3 separate regions of the Homo sapiens genome follow, and regions 2 and 3 are each linked to region 1. Evidence: promoter capture Hi-C in human tissues and cell types (Jung and others, 2019). All regions are on one chromosome and are shown on one strand. Each heading gives the region's core, a stretch centred on a gene start or on the middle of the fragment in contact. The rest is flanking DNA. Distances are from core to core; before and after follow the strand shown.

The links. Contacts are between HindIII fragments. The study calls those that stand out against the background at their distance.
Region 2: a fragment that was not itself captured here is called in contact with the fragment with the promoter of SHPK in region 1 in 1 of the 25 tissues and cell types used here (aorta).
Region 3: a contact is called between a fragment that was not itself captured here and the fragment with the promoter of SHPK in region 1, in 2 of the 25 tissues and cell types used here (aorta and pancreas).

The regions. Positions count from the first base shown.
Region 1 is chr17:3,633,663-3,638,479 of GRCh38, reverse strand. SHPK (sedoheptulokinase) reads left to right here and starts at 2,230. Exons shown (of 7, transcript NM_013276.4): 1 at 2,230-2,428. The coding sequence starts at 2,261. It overlaps CTNS (cystinosin, lysosomal cystine transporter), which reads right to left and starts at 1,720. Exons shown (of 12, transcript NM_004937.3): 1 at 1,649-1,720; 2 at 1,164-1,373. RefSeq lists silencers at 1,355-1,444, 2,455-2,514 and enhancers at 1,725-1,974, 3,813-4,678. The HindIII fragment of the contact is 13,000 bases long and covers 1-4,649 here.
Region 2 is chr17:5,410,583-5,415,399 of GRCh38, reverse strand. It overlaps NUP88 (nucleoporin 88), which reads left to right. Exons shown (of 17, transcript NM_002532.6): 3 at 1,266-1,391; 4 at 4,611-4,697. Among named protein-coding and RNA genes, the nearest start is that of NUP88, 6.7 kb to the left of the region's middle. RefSeq lists an enhancer at 897-2,096. The HindIII fragment of the contact is 3,817 bases long and covers 1-3,810 here.
Region 3 is chr17:5,200,937-5,205,753 of GRCh38, reverse strand. All of the region lies in intron 1 of ZNF594-DT (ZNF594 divergent transcript), which reads right to left. Among named protein-coding and RNA genes, the nearest start is that of ZNF594-DT, 11 kb to the right of the region's middle. The HindIII fragment of the contact is 6,214 bases long and covers 1-4,817 here.

The DNA.
Region 1 (4,817 bases), core at 981-3,480:
GATCACTTGAAGTCAGGAGTTCGAGACCAGCCTGGCCAACATGGTGAATCCCCGTCTCTACTAAAAATACAAAAATTAGCCAGGCGTGGTGGCATGTGCCTGTAGTCCCAGCTACTCAGGAGGCTGAGGCAGGAGAATCGCTTGAACCCGGGAGGTGGAGGTTGCAGTGAGCCGAGATTGCACCATTGCACTCCAGCCTGAGTGATAAGAGTGAAACTCCGTCTCAAATTAAAAAAAAAAAACAAAAAAAAAACCAGATTGATAATTACATACAACTAGTGGCTTGTGAAAGCTACAAGATAGAAATGAAGTATCTCCTGACAATGGGCTCTGTCTGGCGTGCCCTTCCTATGTAAGTTCTAACTATTGTCCAGGCCTCATTCAGATGTCACATGTTTCAAGAAGGCTCCTCACCCATTCAGTCCCTTCCCAGGAGCAACCTGGGGCTAGGGGTCTAGTGTGGCAGCTCCTGTCTGCCAGGTATGAGTTGGTCCTGTCCTCTGTTCTACGACCTGGAACTCCCTGGGTCTCCTGCTTTTGGAGAGGGTACACAAATAGTGGCAAGGGCTGTGTGCACTGGAGACAGGCTTGACCTATTTATTACTTATGCGACCTTGTGGTGCCAAACAAGGAGGTGGTAACTACCTCACAGGACTTAAATGAGGAGATGTAAAGCACGCATTGTCAAGTGGGACTAAAATTGGCTGGGGGTAGGCTGGGCGCGGTGGCTCACGCCTGTCATCCCAGCACTTTGGGAGGCCGAGGTGAGCGCATCACCTGAGGTCAGGAGTTCGAGACCAGCCTGGCCAACATGGTGAATCCCCATCTCTACTAAAAATACAAAAATTAGCTGGGCATGGTGGCTCAGGCCTGTAGTCCCAGCTACTCGGAAGGCTGAGGTAGGAGAATCGCTTGAACCCCGGAGGCGGAGGTTGCAGTGAGCCGAGATCGCGCCACTGCACTCCAGCCTGGGTGACAGAGGCTGCAGACTCCATCTCAAAAAAAAAAAAAAAATTGGCTTGGGGTGGTAGTGAAGAAATCTAGCTATTACAATGGTTTGTGGCCACAGAAACAAATACACAGCGTACTAGTGGTATTAAATTTTATGGGAAGGGGGTAGGTAGGAATAACGAGGTTGAGAAACAAGGATATAAAGTGGTTACCTCTGTTGCTTAGGGCGCCTAGCGAGCTCTCACAAAACACAGTAATCCTCAATGTTACTGGAAGAGGCAGAGCTCAGGAGTCCTCCCTTCGCCCAGTGTGAAAACCCGGAGGGGAGGATGGGGTCTCGTGCTGCTCAGTCCCCCGGAGCCCCGCACTCCGCACGTCAACCGGCGCTCTCGCAAAGGTTCTCTCAGCGTCTCCAAAGCAATCTGCAAATTCCCCAACCGAGACCCAGGCGGCAACTGAGCAGAAGGTAAGGGGCTGGGAACGGCACCCACCCCGGCAGCCCGCTGCCCCTGCCTCGGCTGACCACCGCTCGGGCCCTTCCACCCGGGGGTTGTCCCGTGTCGCGAGGCCAGCACTGGTGGCGGGGAAAGGAGCCCGCCGCGGCTGAGGGCGCTGGACCCCCGGCAGGCTGCCCCGCTGACCTGCTGTGCCTCAAGGGGTCCGCCTGGGAAACAGGGGAGGCCGCGTCCGCTCTCACCTGAGCGCCCCCAGGCTCGAGGAACCGCCCTCACGGGACGCATGAGCCTCGCCAGGTGCCGGTCAGGAATGCACCGCGTTCCCCTGCCCGGCTAGACTTTGGGAGAGGCGGGTCCGCTGTCACCTGACCTCCGCCACCTGACTCGTGGGGCCGGATCTCGGCGAGATGAGCTCTGGGAGTTGTAGTTTCCGCGCGTCTTAGACGGACAGAGCGCAGCTGGGTCGGGCCGGGGCGCAGAGATCGGGGCTCCGGCGTGAGGGAAGATGAGGTCCGCTGCCAGGGACACAGAGACTCTTGGAGCCGCCAGCGCCTCCCGGCTCCTTTCGTGAGCGAAGCTCAGACCGCCCTCCATTGGGCGGAAATCAGAGCCCGTGGGGCGGGGCCCCCTTTAGGTCCCGCCTTCCGCCGCCTCTCCGCCTATAGCCGGGGCCCGCCGAGAGGTTGCGTGGAAGCTCGCCTTCCCCGGCCAGTGGGAAGACGAGAAGCCTCCATGTTGGGTGTGGCTGAAAGATTGGCAGGCGACTCCCCGCCCCTGCCCCGCCCCCCTGGGCGAAGAGCGCGGACTTGTGGGGCCGCTGGCTGCAGACTGGAGCTGCGCGGGTCAGGGAGATAATGGCTGCGCGGCCGATCACCCTCGGCATTGACCTGGGCACCACATCTGTGAAGGCAGCTCTGCTGAGGGCCGCGCCCGACGACCCATCCGGGTTCGCAGTGCTGGCGAGCTGTGCCCGTGCTGCGCGGGCAGAGGCGGCGGTCGAGAGCGCGGTGGCCGGGCCCCAGGTGAGTTGGACCCCCGGGGCCGCGCCGCCTCCAGGAGCCTCCTGACCACCCTTTTCCACCCCAGGAGGCCTCCCTGACAGCCCTTCCCGCAATGAAGTCTCTATTCCAGCTTGTCCCCAGCTTCTCCAGGGGCCCGTCTGCCTGCAGCAGCTGTGCTCATGATCCCTTAGGTCTGGTCCCAGAATCCTTCCCACCTGCTGGGACCGATTCCCCCCCGCCCCCTCCCCGACTCTCTGGCTTCTTCTGGGGGCCTTGCGCTTGGCGCTGGATCCCTGTGCTCTCTGTCCCCTGACCTTGGAGGAACTGATCTCTTGTGTGTATGGAATGACCACAGGCCTCCCTTTCACTCTTGCTGCTCTCCGCTCCTCACACCTGCCCTGTGACCTCAAGTTCAGGATTCAGTTTGTTGCCCAGGGCAGAGTCTGGGTTTTCCTCCGGAAATCAGATGTCAAATCAGGCCTAACTGGCTCCTGGCTCATTCCACAGAAGCAGAATGCGGACCAAGAAACCTTTGGTCAGCCGGGCGCGGTGGCTCACGCCTGTAATCCCAGCGCTTTGGGAGGCCGAGGCGGGCGGATCACGAGGTCAGGAGATCGAGACCATCCTGGCTAACACGGTGAAACCCCGTCTGTACTAAAAATACAAAAAATTAGCGGGGCGTGGTGGCGGGCGCCTGTAGTCCCAGCTACTCGGGAGGCTGAGGCAGGAGAATGGCGCGAACCCGGGAGGCGGAGCTTGCAGTGAGTCGAGATCGCTCCGTTGCACTCCAGCCTGGGTGACAGAGCGAGACTCCTTCCCTTCCTTCCCTTCCTTCCTTCCTTCCTTCCTTCCTTCCTTCCTTCCTTCCTTCCTTCCTTCATTCTTTCCTTTCTTTCTCTTTCTTACCAAGTCTCGCTCTGTTGCCCAGGCTGGAGTACAGTGGCGTGATCTGGGCTCACTGCAACCTCCGCCAACTGGATTCAAGTGATTCTCCTGCTTCAGCCTCCCGAGTAGCTGGGACTACAGGTGTGAGCCACCGCGCCCGGCTACTTTTTGTATTTTTAGTAGAGACAGGGTTTCGCCATGTTCGCCAGACTGGTCTTGAACTCCTGACCTCAAGTGATCTGCCCACTTCAGCCTCCCAAAGTGCTAGGATTACAGTTGTGAGTCACTGCGCCTGGCCCAGCTTTGTTTTTCACAAGCTCTTGCCACATACATGGACACGGTTGTTTAGGGTTCAGAGCCCATTTGGCTCAGAAGCATTTCTGAGGATAGGGATTTCAGGAGCACTTTGTATCTACATAGAAGCTTTCAAGATTAGTTTGGTTGGGACATTAGGGCATATTAAAAGGATTCTTACTTAAAGGACTATGAATTGGAGGCAAAGTTGGCTCTGACCCTGGTGGGGTGAGCAGGAGAGCTGGCATTAGGGGAGAGTAGGCTCAGAAAGTGCCAGTTTCTCCTGAAATAGAGCACTTCTTTTTTTTTTTTTTTTTTTTTTGAGACAGGGTCTCGCTCTGTCACCCAGGCTGGAGTGCAGTGGTGCAATCTCTGCTCACTGAAACCTCTGCCTCCCGGGTTCAAGTGATTTTCGTGCCTCAGTTTCCCGAGTAGCTGGGATTACAGGTGTGCGCCACCATGCTTGGAGAATTTTTTTGTATTTTTGGTAGAGATGGGGTTTCACCATGTTGGCAAGGCTGGTCTCAAACTCCTGACCTCAACTGATCTGCCTGCCTCGGTTTCCCAAAGTGCTGGGATTACAGGTGTGAGCCACCGCACCCAGCATGGCCACTTTTTTTTTTTTTTTAATTGATCACTCTTGGGTGTTTCTCGCAGAGGGGGATTTGGCAGGGTCATAGGACAATAGTGGAGGGAAGGACAGCAGATAAACAAGTGAACAAAGGTCTCTGGTTTTCCTAGGCAGAGGACCCTGCGGCCTTCCGCAGTGTTTGTGTCCCTGGGTACTTGAGATTAGGGAGTGGTGATGACTCTTAACGGGCATGCTGCCTTCAAGCATCTGTTTAACAAAGCACATCTTGCACCGCCCTTAATCCATTTAACCCTGAGTGGACACAGCACATGTTTGAGAGAGCACAGGGTTGGGGGTAAGGTCACAGATCAACAGGATCCCAAGGCAGAAGAATTTTTCTTAGTACGGAACAAAATGAAAAGTCTCCCATGTCTACTTCTTTCTACACAGACACAGCAACCATCCGATTTCTCAATCTTTTCCCCACCTTTCCCCCTTTTCTATTCCACAAAACCGCCATTGTCATCATGGCCCATTCTCAATGAGCTGTTGGGTACACTACCCAGACGGGGTGGTGGCCGGGCAGAGGGGCTCCTCACTTCCCAGTAGGGGCGGCAGCACGGCCACTTCTTGAAAACTTTTCTGCCCTCCCTCCCCAGC
Region 2 (4,817 bases), core at 653-3,152, 1.8 Mb before region 1:
TGTACTGTATAAATATGTATCAATCCTAAGTCAAACCATCCTAAAATGTATATATACGTATGAAATATGCTATAATTTGGAGCCAGGCACGATGGCTCACACCTGTAATCCCAGCACTTTGGGAGGCCGAGGCAGGTGGATCACCTGAGCTCAGGAGCTTGAGACCACCCTGGGCAACATGGTGAAACCTCATTTCTACTAAAATACAAAAAATAAGTGGGGTGTGGTGGCACACGCCTGTAGTCCCAGCTACTCAGGAGGTTAAGGCACAAGTATTGATTAAATCCAGGAGGCGGAGGTTGCAGTGAGCAAAGATCACGCCACTGCACTCCAGCTTGGGCCACAGAGTGAGACTTCATCTCAAATAAATAAACAAATAAAATTTAAATAAATAATTTAAATTATTAAAATAAATAAATTATTTATTTATTTTGAGACAGAGTCTGGCTCTGTAGCCCAAGCTGGAGTGCAGTGGCGTGATCTCAGCTCACTGCAACCTCCTCAGCCCGGGCTGGAGTGCAGTGGCACAAGCTCAGCTCACTGCAGCCTCCACCTCCTGGGTTCCAGCGATTCTTCTGCCTCAGCCTCACGGGTAACGGGTTACAGGCATGTGCCACCACACTTGCCTAATTCTTGTATTTTTAGTGGAGACGGGGTTTTACCATGTTGGCCAGGCTGGTCTCAAACTCCTGACCTCAGGTGATCCACCTGCCTTGGCCTCCCAAAGTGCTAAGATAGGCGTGAGCCATTGCGCCCAGCCAGTGTGCTATAATTTAGAAGATATTTTTATTTCAATTCTTTGATATTGATTGAATAGATGCCTTGAATGTCCTCTCAGCATGATTTCAGGGAAATAAATCTGAAGGAAAGAGAATCAAAGAGTGTTAAAATAGAAATTTCTTCAGGGCCTGGCGTGGTGGCTCATGCCTGTAATCCCAGCACTTTGCGAGGCCGAGGTGGGCAGATCACCTGAGGTCGGGAGTTTGAGACCAGCCTGACCAACATGGAGAAACCCCCTCTCTACTGAAAATACAAAGTTCGCTGGGCGAGGTGGCAGGTGCCTGTAATCCCAGCTACTTGAAAGACTGAGGCAGGAGAATCACTTGAACCTGGGAGGCGGAGGTTGCAGTGAGCCGAGATTGTGCCGTTACACTCCAGCCTGGGCAACAAGAGAGAAACTCCATCTGCAAAAAAAAGAAGTTCCTTTAGAAGATTTTCATCCAAGTTGTACAAAATGTTTTGGAAAATTATTATCTTTATTTTAGTACCACTCCAGTTGCGGAGAGATTTTTCACCAGTTCCACCTCTCTGACTCTAAAGCATGCTGCATGGTATCCAAGTGAAATCCTGGATCCCCACGTAGTGCTGTTAACATCAGACAACGTAATCAGGTAAATTTTATTTCTCTCTCTTGAAGCCTTGCGAGTGGGAAAGCTCTGTTTCTGTTTGCCAATTAACAGCTCAACATAGAACGAAGTGAGTCATTGAATGAGTCAGTGCTTTTATTGGATGGCTGTTGTAACCCATTCTCAATCATAAGAATTGCCTAACTGCTCTAACTTACCACTATTCCTTCTCAACTAGTCTTCCTGCCTCCAGGTATCTCCTCTCCTAATCTGACACCTTAGAATAATCTTTCCAAAACTCTTTCATCATTGTCACCCTTTTGGTAATAATGTAGCATAAAGGAAAGAGAATGTAAGTGTAAATTTAGAGATTTGAATTATTGTCCCACCTCCTTTTCTGTTATCTTTGAGATCTTGAGCTTTTTAGGGGTTGGGGGGCTCAGTTTCCAATCTTTTAAATTGAGCAGGTTTGATTCAATAGTTTCTAACGCCCCTTCCAAGCTTTGCACTCTATGATTAAATGCCCTAATGCTACGTAGATTTCTACTCTATTATCAGCTAACTTTCTGGATCGGCCTTATGTAAAAAGTTATTGGGGGGACTCAGCAGAGGTACAGATACCTTCAGTTTTATTTTTCGTAATCACTGCTTTTAACTGTGCTCTACTAAATCTTCCTTCACTGCTGAATGACTCACCCCTTAATGATGTCTTATACAGATCCCCATAGCTTTCTCGTTACTTCTAGTTATGAAAACAGTGTGTCCAGTTTAAAACTCATCTTGGCTGGTTGCAGTGGCTCACACCTGTAATCCCAGCACTTTGGGAGGCCGAGGTGGGAGGATCATTTGAGCCCCTGAGTTCGAGACCAATGTGGGCAATACAGTGAGATCCTGTCTCTGCAAAAAAAATTAGCTGGGCATAATGGCATGTGCCGGTAGTCCCAGCTACTCAGGAGACTGAGGTAGGAAGATTGCAGCCTGGGTGACAGAGTAAAACCCTGTCTAAAGAAAATAAGAATGTCGAAAGCTATTTGATCTCAAATCTTTCACAACTATGTCCTGGCCCTTTTGTAGGTCAGACCTGTGTTTTGTGGGATCAGAAGTGATTGGAGAGTGTGCGGTCTGCTCTTTCACTCTTCCTGTTATCCCAGCACTTTGGAACATAGGGTGAAGTGTAAGGAATGGGCTGCCCCCTCCTTCCTCCAAATCTAACTCCTTCAGTGTGGGGTAGGGGAGTGGGACAGGTGAGGTAGAGATCTTACCGAACTGGTAGCCTGTGAGTGATGGGGAAGTATGCCTGATCTTGTTTGAATCTCGTTCCATCTGTCACTAGTGAACTCTGTTGATGTGGTAGTCTCTGCATAGATGGTGTGTTTGTGTGTGTGTATGTGGGGGGGTGGGGTGGTGTTGGAGGGCAGTGTTGAACTTCCAGCTCCCCCCATCACTGAGGAGCTCTGGCTCCCATTGGCTCCTGTCAGTTCTCTATGCCCTGAATCTTCTCTCAAGATGGGGTACAGTATACTTTATCTGCAGGGTGTGTGTTCCAAGACCCCCCAGTGAATGCCTGAAACTGTAGATAGTACTGAACGTGATACGTGTGTATTGCTATGTTTTTTCGATCTTATAACTGAGACAGCTACTAAGTGACTAAGGGGCATTCAGCTAGGAAATGCACCAGTCTCCCTTATTACAGGTACCTCCACATCTGGCTGTTTCCTAGAGCCTTCCCTGCCCACCCATTTGGCTTTAGAGTTCAGGGCAGAGAAAGAGGAGAGGGAAAATCTTCCCATTACAAACATTATACTGTACTCCTAAGGAATCTTTGACATCCTCTCTTCTTAGTCTTCCTTTTATATGCTATGATGGAAAAGGAGATGGTGGGAAGATAGCATAGGTACAGTTCTTAAGCCCCAAAGGAAGTATCTGGCCCCAAATATTGAAGGTTCTTTTTTAAAATATGTGGTATTTAACACTTCTGTTTTCCTAAGCTTTGGAGATTTTGGGCAGTTTCAGAGCAAAAGGAAATTTTCACCGAATGCCCTGTTGCACCTTCTTTTTCTTTCACTGTTCCCCAGTACAACATTATTGCCTAGTATTTATGTGTATTTTGAAGTTAGTAACGCTTGTAGGAACCTAGGAAGACTGTAATAAATGTGTATTCAAATGGATCAAGTTATCATTAAAAATTTATTAAATACTTAATGTGGCATTTTATTGATATTGGAAGAAACCAAGTTAAAAAATTCTTAGTGGCGTCAGACAAAATAAGTGATTATAAGGGACACTGGATTTCTAAAATGACATTACTGGCCTTTTGAAAATTCCCTTTTTCACAATAGCCTTATATGCTGTGAAATGTAGGTTACTTTAAATTAAAATAATTTTGGTTAAAAAAATTCAGTATTATACTTTCCCTTGAAAATAGAGATGATACGATACTGGGTTTGTTTGTTTGGTTTTTTTTTTTTTTTTTGAAATGGAGTCTCGCTCTGTCGCCCAGGCTGGAGTGCAGTGGCGTGATCTTGGCTCACTCCAGCCTCCAGCTCACCGCAACCTCCACCTCCCAGGTTCAAGTGATTCTCCTGCCTCAGCCTCCCGAGTAGCTGGGATTACAGGTGTGTGCCACCACACCCAAATAATTTTTGTATTTTTAGTAGAGACGGGGTTTCATCATGTTGGCCAGGCTGGTCACGAACTCCTGACCTCAAGTGATCTGCTCACCTCGGCCTCCCAAAGTGCTAGGATTACAGGTGTGAGCCACCGTGCTTGGCCAATATTGGGTTTTTATATAACAAACACATAAGTAGATTTGCAGGCTAAATATCACTCACTCTGTCAGCCAGTTGGCATATAAAGAATAAGATACAGTTCTTTCTCTGGTGGGATTTGGTGTCCAATAGGCAGAGATAGATGTGTGTAGTTGAAGGAAAACTGGCAAGCTTAGGGGCAATAGTGAGATGACTGGACAAGGCGAGTATAGCTAAGGGCTCAGGACGGAAGTGACAGAGGTGCGATGTTATGGAATAGGCTGTTAAAGGGTATTGGTAAGGATAGAGAACATTTCTTCAGGCCCCAATGAAACTCCCTTATGTAGTTAAAGAATAAATGAACTAGACTACTTTGCAACAGCAAGATTTTTGCAAAGAAATAGTTGTGATAAGTGTTAGAAAATTCTCAAGAACTGACTAGATGGAGAGGAAAGTGCAGTTTTGGGAAATGAAAACAGAATTTTAAGTGCTGGTTTTCTTCTCTTTTGGTTGCTAGAATTTACTCACTACGTGAGCCGCAGACACCCACTAACGTGATAATACTTTCAGAAGCCGAAGAGGAAAGTCTAGTACTCAATAAAGGGTAAGTTTTTATTTGAGTCTTGAAATGGTTTTTTAATTAGCTTATTGGGATTATAAATGCAATTTTAACAGGTTGCAAGGTTTTTCAGAGGTGACTAGCATGCTTTTGGTAATGTGAGAA
Region 3 (4,817 bases), core at 1,297-3,796, 1.6 Mb before region 1:
CAATGAGGAGTTTATAATTTCACAAAGCAAGAAGTCTAGAGGTAAACACTCCAGAATTCAGCAGCTCCATAATTTAGGGGTGTGGACTAATTTCAAATTGCTTAGCCTTATCCTCATGGTGGCAAAATAGCTGCCACAGCTCCAAGCATCTGTACATGATAACATTCAAAGTTAGAAAGAAAATGTGCATTACTAACATGTATCTTTTTTTTTTTTTTTTTTGAGATGGAGTCTCATTCTGTCACCAGGCTGGAGTGCAGTGGTGCGACCTTGGCTCACTGCAACCTCTGCCTCCTGGGTTCAAGCGATTCTCCTGCCTAAGCCTCCTGAGTAGCTGGGACCACCACACCCAGCTAATTTTTGTATTTTTAGTAGAGACAGGGTTTCACCATGTTGGCCAGGATGATCTTGATCTCTTGACCTCATGATCCACCTGCCTCAGCCTACCAACATGCTGGGATTACAGATGTGAGCCACCGCGCCTGGCTGTATCGTTTTATTAGGGAGGTGAGCCCCCAGCAACTTTCCCTAATGTCTCATTGGCCTGGAGTGGTCCACATACCCAGGGTTTTAGTCCATTTGGTCTACTATAACAAAATTCCTTAGACTGGATAATTTGTTAAAAACAGAAATGTTGCTGAGAGTTCTGGAGGCTGGGGAGTCCAAGATCAAGGCGCCAGCAGATTTGGTGTTTGGTGAGGGCTCACTCTGTGCTTCACACCTTCTCACCGTGTCTTCACATGATAGAAGGGGAAGACAGCTTTCTGGGGCCTCTTTTATATTATTTTATTTTTTGAGACAGAGTCTTACTTTGTCACCCAGGCTGGAGTGCAGCAGCACAATCATAGCTCACTGCAGCCTCAAACTCCTGGGTTCAGGTGATCCTCTCACCTCAGCCTCCTGAGTAGCTGGAACTACAGGCACATGCCACCACACCTGGCTGTTTTTTTTTTTTTTTTTTTGAGACGGAGTCTTGCTCTGTCGCCCAGTCTGGAGTGCAGTGGCATGATCTCAGCTCACTGCAAGCTCCACCTCCTGGGTTCACACCATTCTCCTGCTTCAGCCGCCCAAGTAGCTGGGACTACAGGCACCTGCCACCACAACTGGATAATTTTTTTGCATTTTTTTAGTAGAGACAGGGTTTCACCATGTTAGCCAGGATGGTCCTGATCTCCTGACCTCATGATCCACCTGCCTCGGCCTCCCAAAATGCTGGGATTACAGGCATGAGTCACCGCGCCCGGCCTATTTTTTTTCTTTCTTTCTTCCTTTTTTTTGGTAAAGATGGAGTCTCACTATGTTGCCCAGGCTGGTCTTGAACTCCTGGACTCAAATAATCCTCTTGTCTCAGCCTCCCTAAATGCTGGGATTACAGGTATGAGCCACCGCACCCAGCCTGGGTCCTCTTTCATAAGGGCATTCATCCCATTCATGAGGGCAGGGCCCTCATGATCTAATCACCCCAAACACCCTGCTTCTTAATACCATCATCTTGGGGGTTAGATTTCAACATACGAATTCTGTGGGGACACAAACATAGACCATAGCATTCTGCCCATGACCTCACAAAATCCATGTCCTTCTCAAATGCAAAATAGATTTATTCCATCCCAATAGCCCTAAAAGTCTTAACTCATTCCAATAACAGCTTTAAAGTCTAAGTCAACATCTCAACTAAATGTTGACTCATTCCAAGTCTGGGCAAAAGTCAAGATATGATTCATCCTGAGGCAAATTGCTCTCCAATTATGAGCCTGTGAAATCAAACTACTTATACAATGTAAGTATGCTTCCAAAATACAATGGTGGGACTGACATAGGATAGAAATTTCCATTCCAAAAGGGAGAAATAGGAAAGAAGAAAGGGGTGATGGGTCCCAAGTAAGTCCGAAACTCAACATGGCAAACAACATTAAGTCTTAAGGTTTGAGAATAATGTTTGACTTGACGTCCTACCCCCCAGATATTGGGATGGGGGTTGGGCCTCCAAGACTCGGGGCGGCCCCCCCATGGCTTTGCTGGGCACAGCCCACTCTGCAGCTTTCATGAGTTGGAGTCTCGGACCTGCAGCTTTCCCAGGCTGGAGTTGCACGCTGGTGGCCCTAACATTCTGGGGTCTTGGAGGCACCCCCGTCCCCATGGCTGTGCTGGGCATTGCCCTAGTGGGGGCTCTCCGCAGTGGCCCTGCCCCTTTGGCGGTGCTCCGTCTGGGCCTCAAGATTCCCCCAGGAATCCTTTGAAATCTAGGTAGAGGTAGCAATGCCCTCACAGCCCATGCACTTTGCGCAGCTGTGGAGATAAAACTGCTTGGACACCACCATGCTTTACTGTCTATGCCTCCCAGAGGGATGGCCTGAGTCACAGCTGGGCCCACTTGAGTCACAGCTAGGGTATGCCAGGAGCCCTGCACCAGAATGCAGGGAGCAGAGCCTTGAAATCGCTTTGACTTCAAGGTCCTAGTTTTCTGGGCCTGTGATGGGCAGGGCAGCCTCTAAAGATCTTCGGAATGGTTTCAGGGTCCTTCTTCGCTGTGATGCTGAGCATCTGGCTTCCATCTCCCCACACTAACCTCCTTATCAAAAGTTTCCTTGGTCACATTCTTGGTGTTTTCTCTTCAACAAGCTTTTTCATTCTTTACAACATGGGCAGGTTGGTAAATTTCTAAATATTTAAATTCTGCTGCTTTTTAAATCATAAATAACATCTTTGGCCGGGGGCGGTGGCTCATGCCTGTCATCCCAGCATTTTGGGAGGCTGAGAAGGGCACATCGCCTGAGGTTAGAAGTTCGAGACCAGCCTGGCTAACATGGTGAAACCCCGTCTCTACTAAAAATACAGAATTAGCCAGGCGTCGTGGCACAAACCTGTAATCCCAGCTACTCAGGAGGCTGAGGCAGGAGAATCACTTGAACCCAGGAGGTGGAGGTTGCAGTGAGCCAAGATCGCGCCACTGCACTCCAGCCTGGGCAAAAAGAGCAAAACTCTGTCTCAGAAAGAAAGAGAGAGAGAGAGAGAAAGAGAGAGAGAGAGAGAAAGAGAAAGAAAGACCATCTTTAATTGGTTTCTCTCTGCTAGCATTTTACTACAGGCATTCAAGAGAAGCTTTGCCGCACTCTCAACACTTTACTCAGATATTTTTTCCACCGAATATCCTATTTCATCACTCAGAATTTCTACCTTCCATAAAACACTAGGACATACAATTCAGCCACATTCTTTGCCAGATAATCAGGATCATTTTTCTGCCAGTTTCCAATAACATGTTCTTCATTTCCATCTGAGACCTCATCAGAATGGCCTTTAACATCCATACTTCTACTAGCCTTCTGGTACAACCTCTTAGGTAATCTCTAAGAAAACTGAGGCTTTCTCTGTAGCTCTCCTCTTCTTCTGAGCCCTCACCAGAATCACCCTTCACAATCTATTTACAACAATACAGGCTTATTTTGTGTGTGAGACAGAGCCTCATTCTGTCACCCAGGCTGAGAGTGTAGTGGCTCGATCTCAGCTCACTGCAACCTCCGCCTCCCAGGTTCAAGCGATTATCTTGCCTCAGCCTCCCAAGTAGCTGGGATTACAGGTGCCCACCACCACACCTGGCTAATCGTTGTATTTTAGTAGAGATGGGGTTTCACTATGTTGGCCAGCCTGGTCTTGAGCTCCTGACCTCAAGCAATCCACCTGCCCTGGCCTCCCAAAGTGCTGAGATTACAGGCATGAGCCACCGCGCCCAGCCAATTTTGACTCTTTAAAGAGATTCAAATAATCTCTTAAGTCAGTAGTCCAAAAGGCTACGACCAACAATTTTGGTTTATCTTCCCGTTGAAAGGATCCTCCATACAGAACTCCACATCCAAACCTATTCATGCTGTATCAACAACTTTAGAACCCAGTAACTCCAGGAGTCTGGTTATTATGACAAATGAATACAGTGGACCATCTCTTCTGCCGAGGCGACAGTTCCCTCATTTAACCCCACTAATAGCTAGATAATCCCCTAAAGACAGATTTAAAAAAAAATTTCTTGCCGGGCGCCATGGCTCACGCCTGTAATCCCAGTACTTTGGGAGGCTGAGGCGGATCATAAGGTCAGGAGATCGAAACCATCCTGGCCAAGATGATGAAACCCCGTCTCTACTAAAAATACAAAAATTAGCTGGCGTGGTTGTGCGCACCTGTAGTCCCAGCTACTCGGGAGGCTGAGGCAGGAGAATCGCTTGAACCTGGGAGATGGATGTTGCAGTGAGCTGAGATTGTGCCACTGCACTCTGGCCTGGCGAAAGAGCAAGACTGTATCTCAAAAACAAACAAACACAATTTCCATTTGTTTTTGTGATGTATGTTGCATCATAGTACTATTTCTGCGTGAACATGTCTCCTGAATTGGAGTTTGCTTCTGTTTATAACCTATTCCATCTGCTTTCCCTGAGTGCACATGTGTGTGCTCTGCCATGGCTAAGCGGCAGAATGGAATCTCACTTAAATTAACAGTTGATTGCCAAACACCCTCCAGCATAAATAGGTAACCGTTGACTGTGGTCGCATTTCATTTTACTGGAGCAGAGTGTACATACAACTATGTGCCAAACTACTGTCAGAAACAGCCAATTAATATCGCTGCACCCTTCCCCTTCAACTGTAAAACTCAACCTCTCATATTGACCAACGTATTTCTTTTTTTCTAGCTGGGATTATAGGCTCCCACCACCACGTCCGGCTAATTTTTGTATTTTTAGTAGAGATCGGGTTTCGCCATATTGGTCAGGCTGGTCTCGAACTCCTGACCTCAGGTGATCCACCTGTCTCGGCCTCACAAA